Linked DNA regions of Homo sapiens: region 1 is linked to region 2. The links are contacts of gene promoters, found by promoter capture Hi-C in human tissues and cell types (Jung and others, 2019). All regions are on one chromosome and are shown on one strand. The core of a region is centred on a gene start or on the middle of the fragment in contact, and the rest is flanking DNA. Distances in the headings are between cores, read along the strand shown. Region 1 overlaps LSM12 (LSM12 homolog). Region 2 holds the start of MPP2 (MAGUK p55 scaffold protein 2).

What was found. The method cuts DNA at HindIII sites, captures the fragments that hold promoters and counts their contacts. A contact is called where the count stands out against the background at its distance.
Region 1: a contact is called between a fragment that was not itself captured here and the fragment with the promoter of MPP2 in region 2, in 1 of the 25 tissues and cell types used here (aorta).

Annotation. Positions count from the first base shown.
Region 1 is chr17:44,040,060-44,042,759 of GRCh38, reverse strand. LSM12 (LSM12 homolog) reads left to right here. Exons shown (of 5, transcript NM_001371445.1): 3 at 2,504-2,613. Among named protein-coding and RNA genes, the nearest start is that of LSM12, 25 kb to the left of the region's middle. The HindIII fragment of the contact is 8,358 bases long and covers 1-2,700 here.
Region 2 is chr17:43,906,092-43,908,791 of GRCh38, reverse strand. It overlaps MPP2 (MAGUK p55 scaffold protein 2), which reads left to right and starts at 1,256. Exons shown (of 13, transcript NM_005374.5): 1 at 1,256-1,318. RefSeq lists an enhancer at 1,097-1,246. The HindIII fragment of the contact is 11,562 bases long and covers 1-2,700 here.

The DNA of each region.
Region 1 (2,700 bases), core at 64-2,563, 130 kb before region 2:
CCATCTCTACTAAAAAACTACAAAAAAATTAGCTGGGCGTGGTGGCAGGCGCCTGTAGTCCCAGCTACTCGGGAGGCTGAGGCAGGAGAATGACGTGAACCTGGGAGGTGGAGCTTGCAGTGAGCAGAGCTTGCGCCACTGCACTCCAGCCTGGGCGACAGAGCGAGACTCCGTCTCAAAAAAAAAAAAAAAATTAGCTGGGGGTGGTGGCGGGCACCTGTAATCCCAGCTACTCTGGAGGCTGAGACAGGAGAATCGCTTGAACCCAGGAGGCGGAGGTTGCAGTGAGCTGAGATCGTGCCATTGTACTCCAGCCTGGGCAACAAGAGTGAAACTCAATCCCAAGAAAAAAAGCTATGCTTAGTTTATGGTTTGATGGATCACTGTAAAAGCAGAATATAAATGTTTGAAGATTCCAAGCATTAAGGTACTTTTGGAATATGCTGTAGGTATGGCTCCCCCATTTTTTTTTTGAGACGGAGTCTTGCTCTGTCGCCCAGGCTGGAGTGTAGTGGTACAATCTCGGCTCACTGCAGTCTCTGCCTCCCGTGTTCAAGCGATTCTCCTGTCTCAGCCTCCTGAGTAGGCGGGATTACAGGTGCACACCACCACACCCATCTAATTTTTGTATTTTTAGTAGAGACGGGGTTTCACCATGTTGGCCAGGTTGGTCTCAAACTCCTGACCTCAGGTGATCCGCCTGCCTCGGCCTCACAAAGTACTGGGATTATAGGCGTGAGCCACTGGGCCCAGCCAGTGCCTCTTTTTATTTAAGGAACTGATGTTTGGGGACAAATTGTGTGTTCTCGCGCGTGTTTGCACATGTGCTGCAGCATTGTTAGACTCAGCTGTTCATGTTCATGGGTCTGAAGAGTCTCCAGATTATTTGTTGGACTTTTAAGATGCATTGTTTGCCTTTAATTTGTTTTAACTACCTTGTCTAGCACATTTGTTTTGTCTTACACTCAAACAAATTTGTACCTCTGGAATCTCTAGCAACCAGTAGTGTGGGGTAGGGATCAGAAATGTGCTGGAGAGGTGATAGGGATTGACAGGGTAGAAGTTACGAGATTGTAGTAGACTACCAGATTTTACTAGATTTTCTTTTGATCAGTTTGTGGATGGTTCCACCAGAGGGCAGTGAAGGAACAGACATGACGTAGAATTCAGACTCTTCGTTTTTCTCAAAAGCAGGACAGGGTTGCCTTTAGCTAAAGTTAAAGGTGGACAGCGTTTATGGTTAGATTTACTTGAGTCCTGGCTCCCTATGTGAGCACAGATAATGTTCTGTAAGAGTTTTTAGAGTCTCAGATTGTGGTCTGTGAAGGTGTGGTATGTATTAATTTTTAAACTGGAGGCTCTAGCACAACAGCTGATAAATCTTAATTTTCGCCTTGAATGGAAATTCTGTGTGTGTGTGTGTGTTTGTGTGTGTGTGTGTGTGTGTGTGTGTGTGTGTGTGTGTGTGTTTGTTTTTTTTTTTTTTAAAGAGACAGAGTCTCACTTCTTTGCCCAGGCTGGAGTACAGTAGCATGATCTCGGCACACTGCAACATCTGCCTGCTGTGTTCAAGTGATTCTGCTGCCTCAGCCTTCTGAGTAGCTGGGATTACAGGCACGCACCACCATGCCCGGCTAATTTTTGTAATTTTAGTAGAGACGGGGTTTCACCATGTTGGCCAGGCTGGTCTCGAACTCCCTACCTCAGTGATGCACCCAGTTAGAAGTGTGTGTGTGTGTATGTGTATGTATTTTTTTTTGTTTGGTTTTGTTTTGTTTTGAGACGGAGTCTTGCTCTGTCACCCAGGCTAGAGTGCAGTGGCGCGATCTCAGCTCCCTGCAGCCTTCTCCTGGGTTCAAGCAATTCTCTGCCTCAGCCTCCCAAGTAGCTGGGATTACAGGAGCCCGCCACCACGCCTGGCTAATTTTTTTTTTTTTTTTGTATTTTTAGTAGAAACAGGGTTTTAACCATCTTGGCCAGGCTGGTCTTGACCTCCTGACCTCGTGATCCACCTGCCTCGGCCTCCCAAAGTGCTGGGATTACAGGCATGAGCCACCTCCCCTGGCCGGAAATGTATATATTTTTAAATCTCTGACCATCATTTGCCATCACATAGTCCCCCAGCCACACTCTATAATGTTAAAAGTGCTTTATTTTCTTCCTAGTGCTTATCACTGTCTGAAATCACCTTGATTTCAGTTACTTGTTTATAGTCTGTCTCCCCCACCCACTTCAGGCTATATTTAGCCTAGCATAGTGAATGTCTGGCACATGGTAGGTATGCAGTAAGTATTAGAAGGAAGGAAGGAACGTTTTCTTGGAATACCAGTAACTGTTCAGGTATGTCGTGGATTTTTAAAATTTGTTTCACTTTTCATTTCTGAGAAAACAGAATCTGTCCAAACAAGTCTTTCCTGGCCTCCTTTCTTCAGCTTAGGTCCTGACTGTTGGCAAGAATGAAGATGAATCCTATTCTGAGTCTCTTTCCTCTCTTCCACCCTAGCTTGCCAGCAAAGCACGGACAGAGAAGGAGGAGAAGCTGAGCCAGGCCTATGCAATCAGTGCTGGTGTCTCTCTAGAGGGCCAGCAGCTCTTCCAGACCATTCACAAGACGTGAGTTGGGATCGGAGAGGTCCTTTGTCCTGGGGTAATGCTACCTGGTTGTGCTGTCTGGTGGCAGGCTTTTGGGTGGTTGTCTTC
Region 2 (2,700 bases), core at 7-2,506:
TGCTTTCGGGATAGATTCCCATTTCTGAGATTTCCAAGCAAGTTTCCAGAATGTAATCCATTTCTTTTCTTTTTGTTTCTTTTGAGACAGGGTCTCACTCTGTTGCCCAGGCTGGAGTGCGGTGTTGCAATCTCGGCTCACTGCAGCCTCAGCTTCCCAAGTAGCTGGGACTACAGGCGCGCGCTACCACGCCCAGCTAATTTTGTTTATTTTATTTTTTGTAGCGATGGGGTTTCACTATGTTGCTTGGGCTAGTCTCGAACTCCTAGGCTCAACCGATGCTCCCGCCTCCGACTCCCAAAGTGTTGGGATTATGGGAGTGAGCCACCGCGCCCGGCCAAAGATGCAGTCCATTTATGATCTTAGGAATCCAGTTAGCAAGGAAAAGGGATGACTCTCACATTTTGTTCAGGGCAACTGGACGGGGTGGCTGAACGCCGAGGTCGGAGAAGTAGCGTAGCTGGCCCCAAATGCTAGTCGCACTGCACAGAGCCTCCCGTATTTGGAGGCCCAGCATCTTTTACTAGCAGATGTGGGGTGGAGCCGGAGGCTGGGCGAAGGCGGGCCAGTGGGTTTAACCCTTTATTTACTTTTTGGGCTGGGACTCTGAGGAAGGCTAGCCAGTTACTTCTTTATTCCATAGGCAGGAAAATGGACCAGGCCTCCCTCACCTAGACCTAAAAGAGGCTCTCGAATCCTTTCAGGAAGACATTTCCTCTTTTTTGCAAAATTTCTGGAAAGTCTGGAATCCGGATATCCACCCTCTGAGTCCTTAAAAAGCTGCCCCTGATCCCGAGGCCTTCTGGGGCTGGTATCCTGCTTCCTGGGAGTCTCTCTGAAGTCCTCCTATTCTTTTTCTCAATATGGAAGCAGGATAACGAGGAAAAGTGAGGCACGCCTGGAACTAGAACGCCGGTCTAAGCCAAGATGGGTGGGCGGAGTAATCAAGCCGGTCTCATTAGGCACTTTTACCATCGCCCCTTTAAGGGATCCTTGGGAGCCGAGGGGCACCAGCGGGTACTGGTACCAGTCCTGCCTCCCTAACCCTTCCCAGTGGGACTCCAGCAGGGCGTCGTGGTCTGTGCGGTGTCTCCCAAACCACTACCTGGCTGCCCCCGTACCAGCTGCTGGGAAAGACTACTTCCTCCGAGTTGTGCCGGCCTCCGCGTTCTCCTCACCTCCCCTCTCCTCCGGACCTCCGCCCCCTCGCGGAGAGGCCTTGCCGCTTTAAGAGCCGGGCTAGCGATTGACAAGCAATAAACGCTGAGCGCCCGGCTGCGCTGGAGCCGCCCGGAGCTAGGGGCTTCCCGGGGCGCAGGTAGGCGTCCCCCGGCCCCCGGGCCAGCTCCTATCCCAAGACCTCCGCCTTCTTTTCGTCCTGACACGGCACTTAGGACCCTATTCACTGGGTTTAAACTCCACAGGCCCCTTTCACCCAGGCCCGTTCCCTCCCTGTCCACCCGCCCCCGCCCCTGGGCCCTCTTTCTGGGGTGCTGGTTGGGAGAACCAAGCCCCGCTGCCCATTGACACTGGTCCCCGCCCCTGCGGTAGGGGCTCCAAAGTGGCTTCAGGCACCAAGGTGGTGAGCTGTGAGGGGCCCCGGTATCTGCGCGGCCTCCCCGGGGGCTGTGCGGGTTGGGGGTACTTAGAAGCCCGGCATTACGTAAGAACCGTGCTGTTAGCGCTTCCGGGGGTTGGGGAGCGAGACAGAGGTTGCGCTGGGTCCCGGTGGCCCCCTGGTCCCCCTAGGCAGCTAACACCACAATCTTCCCTGGGAGGGGGTCCGCAGAAGGGCGCGCGCTGCTTCTCCCGCTTCCCAAGCTGTAGCGGGGCGGGTCGGGAGCCAGGGTTAGGGTCTGGAGACTTGGGAGGGGACCGGTGCCAGAAGCGAAGAGCTAGGGTTAGAAAGTTAGGTCAATTAAGGGGGGGGCGGTGCGGATAAAGACGGGGTGGGGGTTGGCCGGGGCAGTCATTTAGTGACCTCATCCCTGGTCTCCGGCGGGCGCGCACGTAGAGAGCCTTCTTTGATGGCTCACAACACGCCCCCCTCCCCCAGGTCCTAGCGCCCAGGGTGTTAGGGCTGGGTCCGTTGGGGCAGGGGTGATCTGATGGTCCAAGCATGCACGTCCGCCTGGCCTTTCGACCCCATCCTCTGGCCCTCAGTTCTGTCCAGACCTCCCCGCGACCTCTCGCTCTCCAAAGCGCCTTTGTCAGACCTTTCTTCTCCGCACCTCTTTGTATGTGTATGGATGGAGGGATGGGTGGGAGGTTGGAAGAAACCTCTCCCTTTCACTGCTGGTCCGCTCGCCTGCGGACACTATGGGTGATGTGGATATCTCGGAGGCAGAGCTGAGAGGGCATCTGGGCCCAGGCTTTTGGAAGCCGAGGTGCAGGTTCCCAGATGTCTGGGTGCAGGACCTTGGCACGGAGCCAGGCTAGCTTGCCTGGCACTGCCGTTCTCCTGTGGACACAGCCAGGCCCCGCCCTCTCAGAGGCTTGGACGGGCGTGGGGGAGCAAAGCCAGCCGATGCTCTGGGAACCGATTCCCCGGGAGAAAACCCAGGCAGGCTGGGCAAGACTTCCGAGCGCAGGGATTTCATACAGGATCCTCCCTGCCTTTTCCCGCCCTCCACGCTCTAGGGAAGGAGGACTTCTGGAGTCCCTTCTCTGACCCTGTGAGGGAGAGCAGCGCCAGCCAGG